Regions from separate parts of the Homo sapiens genome. Here all the other regions are linked to region 3. Evidence: promoter capture Hi-C in human tissues and cell types (Jung and others, 2019). All regions are on one chromosome and are shown on one strand. Each heading gives the region's core, a stretch centred on a gene start or on the middle of the fragment in contact. The rest is flanking DNA. Distances are from core to core; before and after follow the strand shown.

Evidence for each region. The method cuts DNA at HindIII sites, captures the fragments that hold promoters and counts their contacts. A contact is called where the count stands out against the background at its distance.
Region 1: a contact is called between a fragment that was not itself captured here and the fragment with the promoter of ASAP3 in region 3, in 1 of the 25 tissues and cell types used here (adrenal gland).
Region 2: a contact is called between a fragment that was not itself captured here and the fragment with the promoter of ASAP3 in region 3, in 2 of the 25 tissues and cell types used here (H1 embryonic stem cells and heart right ventricle).
Region 4: a contact is called between a fragment that was not itself captured here and the fragment with the promoter of ASAP3 in region 3, in 1 of the 25 tissues and cell types used here (IMR-90 fibroblasts).
Region 5: a fragment that was not itself captured here is called in contact with the fragment with the promoter of ASAP3 in region 3 in 2 of the 25 tissues and cell types used here (liver and pancreas).

The regions. Positions count from the first base shown.
Region 1 is chr1:23,304,624-23,307,323 of GRCh38, reverse strand. It overlaps HNRNPR (heterogeneous nuclear ribonucleoprotein R), which reads left to right. Exons shown (of 11, transcript NM_005826.5): 11 at 1-2,636. Among named protein-coding and RNA genes, the nearest start is that of LINC01355, 20 kb to the right of the region's middle. The HindIII fragment of the contact is 4,009 bases long and covers 1-2,700 here.
Region 2 is chr1:23,680,379-23,683,078 of GRCh38, reverse strand. No RefSeq gene overlaps it. Among named protein-coding and RNA genes, the nearest start is that of RPL11, 10 kb to the left of the region's middle. The HindIII fragment of the contact is 6,026 bases long and covers 1-2,700 here.
Region 3 is chr1:23,482,775-23,485,474 of GRCh38, reverse strand. It overlaps ASAP3 (ArfGAP with SH3 domain, ankyrin repeat and PH domain 3), which reads left to right and starts at 1,296. Exons shown (of 25, transcript NM_017707.4): 1 at 1,296-1,470. The coding sequence starts at 1,342. RefSeq lists an enhancer at 432-531 and silencers at 722-771, 782-891, 1,012-1,461. The HindIII fragment of the contact is 29,915 bases long and covers 1-2,700 here.
Region 4 is chr1:23,240,688-23,243,387 of GRCh38, reverse strand. No RefSeq gene overlaps it. Among named protein-coding and RNA genes, the nearest start is that of HTR1D, 25 kb to the right of the region's middle. RefSeq lists a silencer at 706-906. The HindIII fragment of the contact is 4,016 bases long and covers 1-2,700 here.
Region 5 is chr1:23,334,260-23,336,959 of GRCh38, reverse strand. All of the region lies in intron 4 of HNRNPR (heterogeneous nuclear ribonucleoprotein R), which reads left to right. Among named protein-coding and RNA genes, the nearest start is that of HNRNPR, 8.7 kb to the left of the region's middle. The HindIII fragment of the contact is 4,351 bases long and covers 1-2,700 here.

The DNA.
Region 1 (2,700 bases), core at 188-2,687, 180 kb after region 3:
ATTTCACTCCTAGCATAAAGCCATATAATATTATTCTTGAAACTCATTACATCATTTGCCTCCTGCCCATTTGAATATAATCATACCTACGTTTTATTAATTGTGCATTTGTAAAACCAAACCCTTCCAGTAAATACTTGCTATAAGGCTATTGCTTGTCAATTATCAAGGCTTCTAAATATGTTAAAACTTGTCATTTTGATTTTTCAAAGATAATTTTATTATACTGAGCTACCAATATTCTTAAAGAAAACTAACCAAAGTTAATATTAGTGTAGTCCATTATTATGTGGACAATTATTATGTGGAATCTCTTAAGTGAGCAACTAAGAAAAAGCCTTATAGAAAGACTACACTGGATTTATAAGTGTGTTTATGTTTCTCTAAGAATGGGAGCTTCTGTTAACTTAGGGGTGGAGTTGTTCTGAGGAAACCAGTAGATTGGATGACTGACTGGAGAATCCAGAATAACAAATCCATTAGCCAGACATGTTTACTTTTATATTAGAAGTTTGTTGATTAGGTCTTAATTTTCAAACGCAAACACCAAGCTTTAAAAATATTGCATATACAATGTATTGGTCAGCAATTTAATAATATTTAATTTGAAGTTAATTATTGTTAATCCTTCTAGAAAAGTTTTTTTTCTTTAAATAAAAGTACATATATATACTTTTTTATTTAGAGGTTACCAGAAGCTCTGGTTTTGTTTTGTTTTGTTTTGTTTTTTTGTTTTTTTAATCATTTTCAGATGTTATCCAGAAATCTGCAAGTGTACTTTTCCTGTTTTAACTCCTTCCTTTTATCACCTGACTATCAGGGAAGCGAGGTTGAGGCTGCCCTGACCTGACATGTCATGATGTCGACTTGCTAGGTGGGGTTCGCTGGGGACGATAACCAGTGGAATTGTTGGTAAGAACTTTTTTTTCCTATTTTTTTTTTTATCAGTAGTGGGGCATTAAGTGTGGGAGAATGCCCATATCCTATAAGTGGGCAATTATGTCAGCCTTGTAGAAAAATAGGACTTTAATATTAAATTATTTTGTTCTTAATAGGAACATATAATAACACTTCACTTACTTTTAAATTGGTAGCAGATCAGCAGGAAAGGCCTGCAAGTATGAAGTAATGAAATACTCAGGGTATATTTTAAGTGAGCAAAATAGACACCTTATAATCTTAAAAAGTCTCTTGGAGAGACAATAAATTTGCTTTAACTGTCATTTCAGTCTAGTATTATATTTTCTATATTTTGTTGGATAGATTAACATATAATGCATCTTAAAGAGATATTTATTGCACACTAATTTTAGTGAAAACAAGAAGACATTGATAGAATGGAGGGCTTAAACACCAAAGATACTATTTTTAAAAATCTTCCAAAGTAATCTTAACACTGTAAAATGAAACTTTAAAAAGTTTTAGCAGTTTGACAATAATGGCCTCAATTTAGAGATATGTTGAGACAATGACTTTGGGTCAAGAGGAAATTACATAGCTGAAATATTAAGACCTTGAACATAGCAGAAACATAAACCTATGAACAACTTGTGTTTTGTGTGAAAGCTAGGGTAGCTGATAGGATTAGCAGATATTGGTAGAATTAAGAGTCAATATTTAAATTATTGCTAAAGATTAAAATCCCTCATCTTATAGTTTGTAGGGGATTCCATGATGGTAAGGTATAGATTGAAATTAAATTTAGTAACTAGGCATTTCTGACCATACCATATAAAAAATAATTGTAATATGGTATAAACACTGATTAAAAGTAATTATGGATTTTCATGCCTGAAGAACCTTCTCAGTATTCTTACAGCACTGTATCTTCTTTATTGGTTGAGAATATCAGTCTAGAAAGACTTTCCTAGATGTTAAATGTGCTAGTCAGTGTCATGAATATAAACCCTTACTTGTAAGTTTGCTATAGACTAGTTGTACAACACTAGAATGAAATTATGTAATACTTTTAAGAATTGTAGTGATTGCAGGGTTGTGTTAAGGTAACATTTTATGCATGTGTCAGTGACAGAAAGGATCAGGGTATAAAACTTAGCACTAAATAGCATGCTCCTTAGGAAGTTTTAAGGTAAGCAGTAGGAATATTCATGTAATTCTGATGAGTTTATGTAAGTTAAGGAAAATGCAATGCCAGTTTGTTGACTTTAAACACTAAAAACAAAATACATTTTGTGGAACCAACAAAGGAGACATTCTGGGGAAAAACTTAAATTGCTCAAATTTAAATAAGGGCTCTCACTTTATATAGTAGATTTGTCAGGATCCCATGAACATTGCTTTTCTTGATTTCTCACATATGAGGGTTGGGCAAAAGGGACTTCTCTAGCCTCTTCGATAATGTAGGTAGACTTGTACTTAGTGAATCCCATTATAATGTTAGGTACTATGTTCTAAGACTATTTCTATAATTGGACTGAAGGCTCCTGCAAACATAAATTGCTGATATGGATATAGTAACATAAGAAATACCAAAATAGGGACATTTGCAAGACCTTTTCCATTTAATCATCAGTTTAATAAAAATCATGCTTTTGGTACAGTGTTCATGTACCATAACTGTATTGGAATATTTGTACGATGTTAAATATTTTTAATAAAATTTAACATGTTCAAAATGTTGTGTTGGTGATTTTGGGTGGGGTGTGATGGGTTTGATTGTGCAAAACAGATTTAGTAGTT
Region 2 (2,700 bases), core at 95-2,594, 200 kb before region 3:
ACACTTAATATAAATCCTCTTCTTAAGCAGATTATAGGCTATGTCATACATAGCATTTTTGCCTTTCCCAGAGGGTTGACCTCAATTGTCCTACACATTTCTTCTGAAGCACATATACCCTTTCCCTATGGTATATGAGCCCTGGGTCTTGGGGGTAATAGTACGGGGACCCACTGTCTCACGGCTGCCTGAGACATGACTTCTCTTCTAAGTGTCTTACATGTTTCTTTCTGAGAAACTAGATTTGTCATCCTCTTTCTTCAGCCCATCAGCTCCCTTGGCCTTTGGGGGTAGGTTTGGATATACCTTCTCACCGCAGAACATGGTGAAGTTAAGTTTTAGGGAATCTGCTGAGCATAGTGGCACACATTTATAATTCCAGTGGTGGAAGAGGCTAAGGCAGGAGGATCCTTTGAGCCCAGGAGTTTGAGACTGCAATGAGCTATGATCCAACCACTGCACCCTAGCTTGGGTGACACAGCCAGACCATACCCGGCCCCCTCTCAATCAATCAATCAATAAAGGACTTGGGGAATCTGGGTGAAAGATATATGGGACTTCTTGCAACTTCTATGTAACTTAAAGGGAAACAGGTACCTGGGGAGATATAAAATTGAACTCATTCTCAAAAGCTCAATCCCCACCCCAACTCCACCTTTTCTTCAAACAAACTTCCCAGAATAGCTCTTAAGTGGCTGTATTACCCATACTGTGATAATGAGGGTGGCTGATTAATAACTAATTTACTGTCCCCACCAGGCACCAGCTCACTCAACCTTCAGCATCCCTGTGGAGGCAGATACTATTGCTTTCCCATTTTACAGATGAGCAGACAAACACATAGAAGTTTAGTAACTTTTTTTTCTTTTTTTCGAGATGGAGGAGTTTCACTCTGTCACCTAGGCTGGAGTGGAATGGCATGATGTCTCGGCTCATTGCAACCTCCATCTCCTGGGTTCAAGCAATTCTCCTGCCTCAGCCTCCCAAGTAGCTGGGATTACAGGTGCCCGCCACCACGTCTGGCTAATTTTTGTATTTTTGGTAGAGACAGGGTTTCGCCATGTTGGCCAGGGTGGTCTTGAACTCCTGGCCTCAGGTGATCTACCCGCCTCAGACTCCCAAAGTGCTGGGATTACAGGTGTGAGCCACCGTGTCCAGCCGTGTCCAGCTTTTTTTTTTTTTCTTTTTTTAGACACAGTCTTGCTCTGTCACCCAGGTTGGAGTGCAGTGGTGTGATCTCAGCTCACTGCAACCTCTGCCTCCCGGGTTCAATCAATTCTTGTGCCTCAGCCTCCTGAGTAGCTGGGACTACAGGCATGCACCACCATGCCTAGCTAATTTTTGTATTTTAGTAGAGATGGTGTTTTGCCATGTTGGCTAGGATGGTCTCAAACTCCTGACTTCAAGTGATCTGCCCTCCTCAGCCTCCCAAAGTGCTGGGATTACAGGCATACGCCACTGCACCTGGCCCTTTTTTTTTTTTTCTTTTCTTTTTTTCACTCAGTTGCCCAGGCTGGAGTGCAGAGGCACGATCTCAGCTCACTGCAGCCTCGACCTCCTGGGCTCAAGTGATCCTACCACCTCAACCTCCCAAGTAGCTGGGACCACAGGTATGCACCATCACACCTGGCCAATTTTTTTGTATTTTTTGTAGAGATGAGGTCTCACTATACTGCCCAGGCTAGTCTTGAACTCCTGAGCTCAAGTGATCCACCCACCTCGGCCTCCCAAAGTGCTGGGATTATAGGCATGCACCACCACTCCTGGTCTAGTAACTTTTAAGACAGTAATGAAATCAGGCAGTCTAATACCAGCGTCCCGTCCTATTTTAGAAGCCGACAGACCAGGCTAGGGCCCAGACCTTCCCCTCAGTTTTCCCTCCATGCGTTTTCTTCTTTACAAGCCCAGCTGTCTGGCTCTTGCATCTGGACTCCCAGTAACCCACCTGCCTCCTCACTGCTTGAGACAGAGGTCAGTAGAGGCAGAGGCAAAAAGACTTGCTTTGCTTTATCCAACGCCTCAAGCTCATCAGCAGAGAGAAAACCATATTAGCAGGATCAGGATTAAGATAGTTCAGACAGCCGGGCGCAGTGGTTTACACCTGTAATCTCAGCACTTTGAAAGGCCAAGACGGGCGGATGAGGTCAGGAGTTTGAGACCAGCCTGGCCAACAGGGTGAAACCCTGTCTCTATGAAAAATACTCAAATTAGCCAGGCGTGGTGTTGGGAGCCTGTAATCCCAGCTACTGGGGAGGCTGAGGCAGGAGAATTGTTTGAACTTGGGAAGTGGAGGTGGCAGTGAGCCAAGATCGCATCATTGCACTCCAGCCTGGGAGAAGAGCAAGACTCTGTCTCAAAAAAGAAAAGACAGGGCCGGGCGTGGTGGCTCACGCCTGTAATCCCAGCACTTTGGGAGGCCAAGTTGGGTGGATCACAAGGTCAGGAGATCGAGACCATCCTGGCTAACACGGTGAAACCCCATCTCTACTAAAAATACAAAAAAAATAGCCGGGCGTGGTGGCGGGCGCCTGTAGTCCCAGCTACTTGGGAGGCTGAGGCAGGAAAATGGCGTGAACCCAGGAGGCAGAGCTTGCAGTGAGCTGAGATCGCGCCATTACACTCCAACCTGGGCAACAGAGCCAGACTCCATCTCAAAAAAAAAAAGAAAAAAGAAAAAAGAAAAAGAAAAAGAAAAGAAAA
Region 3 (2,700 bases), core at 47-2,546:
AAGTTACTCATAATGTCTTCAGCTAGTGCATATCTGTCTTCAGCTAGTGCATAAAATGTTGCTGGTGCAACATTTTAGTGCATATCTTTCCGGATTTTTTCTTTTCTTTTCTTTTCTGTGCGAGAAAAGAAAAGATTCTCTCAATCGCCGCCCTGTGGGGTAAAATACCATGAGGCCATTTTAAGAGGGGGAAATGCAGGCTTAGAGAAGCAAGCAATTTATCCAAAGTAACCAAGATTGGAATCTAGGTTCCTCTGACTCCAAAACCAATGTTCCTTGCTGCGGTGCTTTCCTAGCTTTTTACTTGGAGAACTTTTCCCCAGAGGACCTCAGGCTTCAGAACTAAACCTAAGTGGATTTCTATCCTGAACCCCATCCCTCATCCGCCCCAAAGGATGGTGAGCCAGATTAAGGGGTGAAAGGCAGGAGCAGGAAGAGTAAAGGCGTGGGTGCGATCTATGGTCGGGTAAGAGGGAACTAGTACACGCACGTGTTCGGTTCTTCGCAACATCACAATCAAGCGGGCATCAGGCTTCCCATTGTACAGATAAGGAAACTGAGGTTCCAGAAGAGAAGTAATTTTCCCCAAGTCACACAGCTAGCCAGGGGCCCCGATCCACACATCCCCGGGGCGGCGGGGGTTATCAGGAGGGAGTCTCCGGATGCCTGCAAAGCTGAGGCTGAGAGCTGGGCGTACGCAGCAAAGGAGGGGTGGGGCGATTCGGGGCGGAGCGAGGCAAGGAGATTGGGCGGGACTGGGGAGAGAGGAGGGAAGGGTGGCGGGGGGGTGGTAGGGCAGAAGGGGCGAGGTCATGGGGAACTCGGAACGAATCAGCAGAGGAGGGAGGAAGAGGGAGGGGGCTCTAAGACTCGACGCGGAGATGGAACAGCCTGGGCCGTGCAAGGGAGGAGGATTTGGAAGACCCAGAGCGGGATGAAACGGGACAGAGCCCTGAAGGGGCAGGGATGGGGGAAGGCGGAGGAGTTTCTACTGAGGCCAGGGGTGGGGCATCGCGCCAGGGGGCGGGGTCTGAGGCGGTGAGGGGCTGGGGGCGTGGCCTAGGGGGCCGGCGAGGGGCCGGGGAAGCGGCCTGACGCGGTGCGGGGCCGGGACCGGGGCCGGAGCCTGGACCTTGGCGGTGGAGGAAGGCGAGGAGCCGGGGGCGGGGCCGTCCCAGCTGAGGAGCGGAGAGCGGCTGGAGGGTCGGGGGCGGGGCGTGCGGAGGGGCGGGGCGTGTGGAGGCCGGGACGGCGCCCCCGGCCGGCGGTGAGGCCGGCTCAGCGCGGAGCAGCTCAGTGCCCCCCGCGCCCCGCTCCGGCAGCTCCACGCTCGCGCCCGCCATGCCGGAGCAGTTCAGCGTCGCCGAGTTCCTGGCCGTCACCGCGGAGGACCTCAGCTCCCCGGCTGGGGCCGCCGCCTTCGCCGCCAAGATGCCCCGGTACCGAGGGGCGGCGCTGGCGCGGGAGGAGGTGAGGGGGCCGAGGCGGGAGGGGTCGGGGGTCGGCGCCGGGCCTGGCCTTGACCTCCACAGGCGTGTCGCACCCGAGCTGCGATGGCCCTTCACCGCGCCCCGAAACCTGCCCCCTCCCTAGGTCTGGGAGGACCGAGCGCATCTCCAACAGCTGCGTCCTCACCGTCGAGGCGGGGGAAGGCCCGAGGGACCGTTTTGGGGGGCCTCGAGGTCTCTTCGATGACAAACTCCACAGGTCGGGGGACGTACCCCAAGTGCCCCGCGTGACCGCCTCATCACATATGTGTTTGCCTAGCGCCTTCCAGCCTCAGTTTGCGTTTTCATCTTCGGAGCCCCACAAGTGTGCCCCCCGAGTCACTCCCCTTCTGAGAGGCAGGCTTCCCGCCTCAGTCCTGAACTTTCTTCCCCCCGGCTGCAGAGAGGCCCCCTCCCGCTTGCGGCTGGTTCGGAGATTTGGCCCGCGTTTGTGGAATGAATGCGGATGGGAAGGCGCCAGGAGCCGGGGTTCACCTTGGCCGGGCTGTTGGCAAGTTTATCGTCTCCTCTCCCCTCCCCTCTCCTCTTTGTCTTTCCCAGCAAAGCGTCCCAGGCCTTTTCTTTCGGTCTTGCAGGCTGCCCCACCCCATTCCCATGCTCTTCGGAGTTCCTTCCATTCCTCTTCTCTGAACCTGCTGCAGCTTTCCGCAGCTCCTCTGCAAAGAATATTCTAGGACAGACACCCCGTGGCCTTGGTCCAACGGAGAATAATGTGTTTTTGCAGCTCCCCATCCAAAGGATGCCCTCAATTTGGGTGGCATTTTGGACCTCAGCAACGGCTCTAGCCTTCCACCCTTCACCTTAAGTGTACTAGGCACCCACTGCGTGGCAGATACAAAGCTCAGTAGTTCATAACACCCTGCGCCAGTGTCAGGAAATCTGTCCTCTTCTCTCTTGTCAGGGTGACCCTCCATCTCGGAGTCTGTTTGTATCACTTTGTAAGGGTGATAGAGGATTGTGGAAGGAGCATCGACTTTGGGGAAGGCAGACCTTTTTTCTTTCCTTTTTTTTTTTTGAGACGGAGTCTCGCTGTGTCGCCCAGGCTGGAGTGCAGTGACGCGATCTTGGCTCAATGCAAACTCCGCCTCCCAGGTTCACACCATTCTCCTGCCTCAGCCTCCCGAGTAGCTGGGACTACAGGCTCCCGCCACTACGCCTGGCTAATTTTTTTTTTGTATTTTTAGTAGAGACG
Region 4 (2,700 bases), core at 195-2,694, 240 kb after region 3:
ACTGCTGGGCTCAAGCGATCCCCCTGCCTCAGACTATTGAGTAGCTGGGACTACAGCCTTGAGCCACCGTTCCTGGCTAATTTTTGAAGTTTTTTGTAGAGATGAGATCTCACTATGTTGCCCAGGCTTGTCTTGAACTCCTGGCCTCAAGCATCCTCCCACCTTGGCCTCCCAAAGTGCTGGGGTTACAGGTGTGGGCCGCTGCACCTGCCCATTCTTCTTTTTTTTTTAATGCCTAAACAAAGATATGTGCGTGTATGTGTGTATAGTGTTAGGATGTTTGTTCCTTTCTTTTGCTTTCTTTCCTTTTTCTACAAAAAGAATCATTCTATACTGTTCTGGAATATACTTTTTTCATTTAACAATACATAGCAGACAGCTTTCCAATATATTTAGATATATTAATTAATCTACAATTATATTAAGTAATTCACATGATTCAAAACTCCAGAGGTACACAAGAATATTCAAAAATGAGCCTCCCTCTCACCCCTACCCCAGGTACCCGGTTATCTCCCCAAAAGCTTCCAGTGTTACCTTTCTTGTGCATCCTTCCAGGGCTGCATTAAGCATGGATAAGCAATTATGTATATGCATTGCCCCCCATCCCCAGTTTTACATAACAGGATATACTGTATATCTTGTACATATAATACTGTTCTGCGCCTTGCTTTTTTTTTTTTTTTTTTTTTTTTTTCGGGACAGGCTCTTAAAGGCTCATGATTGTGCCACTGCACTCTAGGCCCAGACTTAGAGTGCAGTGACACAATCATGACTCACTGCAGCCTCGACTTCCTGGGTTCAAGCAGTTCTCCCGCCTCAGCCTCCCAAGTAGTTGGGACCACAGGCGTGTGCCATCACACTCAGCTACTTTTTGTAAGTTTTTTGGAGAGATGGGATTTCGCCATGTTGCCCAGGCTGGTCTCAAACCCCTAGGCTCAAAGGATTCGACCACTTTGCACACCCAAATTGCTGGGATTACAGGCATGAGCCACCGCACCCAGCCTGCACCTTGCTTTTTTCACTATAATACCATGTCCTAGCGGTCATTCATATTCATATGCAATATTTCATTCTTTTTAGTAGCTAGTAACATCCTATGTGAGATATGTAGACTCATTCATGCAGCTTTCTCTCACTGGTGGCCTTGTAGCTTGGGTCCAGTTTTTTTGCTTGTTGCGGTTATGAGTGCTTCAGTGAATCTCCTTGCACACATATCGTTAATAAAAGCACTCATAGTTTTATTTCCTAGAAGTGGAATTGCTGTGTCAAAAAGTATGCATTTTAATTTTTAATAATTTAGTTATGTATGCATGTTTTAAATTTTAATAAATAATGTCAGATGATTTTCTCAAAGGTTGTAGCAAGCTTTAAAGCATGAGTTTATGATCTGAATTGTATTTCAGTTTTTAAAAAAGAGCGATTTTTAAAAAATATTAGCTGGGTGTGTAGTGCATGCCCGTAGTCCCAGCTACTCAAGAGGCTGAGGTGGGAGCCCAGGGGTTTGAGGCTGCAGTGCACTTTGATGGTGCCTGTGAGTAGCCACTGTATTTTATGCTGGGCAACATAGGGAGGCCCCGTCTCTAAAAAAAAAAAAGGGTAGCGATTTGTGGCTCATTAACACTTCCCCATATATTACTAATTGTTTAAATTGTTGTCAATATTGTAAGAGAAAAATAGTATCTTCTGGTTGTAAATGTGTATTCCCTGACCTCCCTGTGAGGGTGAGCACGATCTCCTAAGTGTTTTGGCCACTTGCAGTCAACTGCTATGAATTCTCTGTGTCCTTTGCCCATTTTTCTTTTTCTTTTCTTTTTTTTTTTTTTTGAGACGGAGTCTCGATATGTCGCCCAGGCTGGAGTGCAGTGGTGTGATCTCGGCTCACTGCAAGCTCCGCCTTCCGGGATCACGCCATTTTCCTGCCTCAGCCTCCCGAGCAACTGGGACTACAGGCGCCCTCCACCGCGCCCAGCTAATTTTTTTTTTTTTTGTATTTTTAGTAGAAACGGGGTTTCACCGTGGTCTCGATCTCCTGACCTCGTGATCCGTGAGCCACCGCACCCGGGCATTTGCCCATTTTTCTAGTGGGTTCTTTGTCTTCTTCCTATGAACTGTTTTTTTTTTTTTTTTTTTTTTTGAGATGGAATCTCCCTCTGTCTCCCAGGCTAGAGTGCAGTGGCATGATCTCAGCTTACTGCACCCTCTGCCCCCCCGGGATTCAAGCGATTCTCGTGCCTCAGCCTCCCAAGTAGTTGGGATTACAGGCATGTGCCACCATGCCCAGCTAATTTTTGTGGGGTTTTTTTGCTTGTTTGTTTTTTGAGACGGAGTCTCGCTCTGTCACCCAGGCTGGAGTGCAGTGGCGCAATCTCCGCTCACGGCAACCTCCACCTCCCAGGTTCAAGTGATTCTCCTGCCTCAGCTTCCCAAGTAGCTGAGATTACAGGCACCCACCATCACGCCTGGCTAATTTTTGTATTTTTAGTAGAGACAGGGTTTCACCACGTTGGCCAGGCTGGTCTCAAACTCCTGACCTCAGGTGATCCGCCTGCCTCGGCCTCCCAAAGTGCTGGGATTACAGGCGTGAGCCACCTCGCCCAGCTCCTATGCACTTCTTAGGATAATTCTTTGTATGAACCCTTTGTTTTTGTTTTGTTTTTGTTTTGTTTTGTTTTTTGAGACGGAGTCTCGCTCTGTCCC
Region 5 (2,700 bases), core at 149-2,648, 150 kb after region 3:
AATGCCTGGAATGTAGCAAGAACTATATAACCATGAACCATTATTATTATTACCATTTTATTACTTAGATAAACAGCTTTGAAAAGGTAAATATACAGCTTTTAATGAAAGACCAGTGAACCTAATTCCTTAGTTAAATGGATACTCGTGTCTTGCTGTAGTGACATACTTTTCTTTTTTTTTTTTTTTTTTGAGACAGAGTCTCACTCTGTGGCCCAGGCTGGAGTGCTGGAGTGCAGTAGCGCCATCTCAGCTCATCTCAGCTCACTTCAACCTCTGTCTCCTGGGTTCAAGCGATTCTCCTGCCTCAGCCTCCTGAGTAGCTGGGACTACAGGCGTGCGCCACCACATCCAGCTAATTTTTTTTTTTTTTTTTTTTTTTTTTTTTGAGACGGAGTCTCCCTCTGTCGCCCAGGCTGGAGTGCAGTGGCGCGATCTCAGCTCATTGCAAGGTCTGCCTCCTGGGTTCACGCCATTCTCCTGCCTCAGCCTCCTGAGCAGCTGGGACCACAGGTGCCTGCTACCATGCCCGGCTAATTTTTTTTTTCTTGTATTTTTAGTAGAGACAGGGTTTCACTATGTTAGCCAGGATGGTCTCAATCTCCTGACCTCATGATCCGCCCGCCTCGGCCTCCCAAAGTGCTGGGATTACAGGCGTGAGCCACCGTGCCTGGCTGCTAATTTTTTTTGTTTTTTGGTAGAGTCGGGGTTTCACTGTGTTAGCCAGGCTGGTCTCAAACTCCTGACCTTGGGGGATCTGCCTACCTCACCCTCCCCAAAGTGCTGGGATTACAGGTGTGAGCCACCATATCCGGCCTGTGATAGACTTTTTTTTTTTTTTTTGAGACGGAGTCTCGCTCTGTCGCCCAGGCTGGAGTGCAGTGGCGGGATCTCGGCTCACTGCAAGCTCCGCCTCCCGGGTTCACGCCATTCTCCTCCCTCAGCCTCCCGAGTAGCTGGGACTACAGGCGCCCGCCACTACGCCCGGCTAATTTTTTGTATTTTTAGTAGAGACGGGGTTTCACCATTTTAGCCGGGATGGTCTCGATCTCCTGACCTCGTGATCCGCCCGCCTCAGCCTCCCAAAGTGCTGGGATTACAGGCGTGAGCCACCGCGCCCGGCTGTGATAGACTTTTTAATTAGAAATAGTTATTGTATGTTGAAGTTATTTCTATTATTATTACATTGTAATATGTAATGAAATAATTATACAACTCACCATAATGTAGAATCAGTGGGATCCCTGAGCTTGTTTTCCTGCAACTAGATGGTGCCATCTGGGCATACTGGTAGATGGTGACAGATCTTCAAGCATTAGATTCTCATAAGGAGCATGCAACCTAGATCCCTTGTATGCACACTTCACAATAGGATTCACCCTCCTGTGAGAACCTAATGCGGCTGCTGATCTGACAGGAGGTGGAGCTCACAGCTCAGGCAGTAATGCCAATGATAGGGAGGATGAGGAGCGGCTGTAAATACAGATGAAGCTTTGTTCTCACTTGCCCGCTATTTACCTCCTGCTATGCAGCCCGGTTCCTAACAGGCCATGGACCAGTACGGGTCTGTGGCCCAGGGGTGTGGGGACCCCTGTTTTATATTACATTTATGGCTCTGTTTCAGTCAAAGGTAGAAGAATGGAAGGCCGAAGGCATGCATCCCTGTGAAATCCTAGTGTTCACTGAACTTGATGATATCTAAAGTCTCTTATTGTTCTGACATTGTGTAATTTTAAAAACCTGGCTGGGCTCTGTGGCTCACGCCTGTAATCCCAGCACTTTGGGAGGCTGAGGCGGGTGGATCACGAGGTCAGGAGATCGAGACCATCCTGGCTAACAACGGTGAGGCCACCTGTCTACTAAAAATACAAAAAATTAGCCGGGTGTGGTGGCAGGCGCCTGTAGTCCCAGCTACTTGGGAGGCTGAGGCAGGAGAATGGCGTGAACCCGGGAGGCGGAGCTTGCAGTGAGCCAAGATCGCGCCACTGCACTCCAGCCTGAGCGACAGAGCGAGACTCCGTCTCAAAAAAAAAAAACCAAAAAAACTGAAGTGTAAATTTCTCTTTTCTAGGTAGATTGTGTTTCTTTGTTTACCATTGTATCTTTTCTTCTCTAAGCTCTTTATATAGATGTTGCCTCAATTATAACATAAATTCCTGAGAGCAAGGAGATTATCTTCTTTTCTATGATTGCTCTTAATACCTAATAGAATGTAAGGAAGGTTGGTAATCAGGAAACACAAGATTTTACTTATTTTTCGGAACCTGACTATACTTATTTGGTAATTGCCAAATATTTTTAGTCTGTACTGTATGATTCTTGTCTGATTACCTGATTCTTGTGGAGCTTATGATATGGCAGGAGTACAAACCAGAAGGATCAAACAAAATCAAGCTTAAATGATGGAACTTTAAGTACACTAGAGGCTGGGTATGGTGGCTCATTCCTGTAATCCCAGCACTTTGGGAGGCCAAGTCGGGTGGATCACGAGATCAGGAGATTGAGACCATCCTGGCTAACACGGTGAAACCCTGTCTTTACTAAAAATACAAAAAATTAGCCGGGCGTTGTGGCGGGTGCCTGTAGTCCCAGCTGCTCGGGAGGCTGAGGCAGGAAAAGGGCGTGAACCTGGGAGGCGGAGCTTGCAGTGAGCCGAGATCGCGCTACTGCACTCCAGCCTGGGTGACACAGCGAGACTCC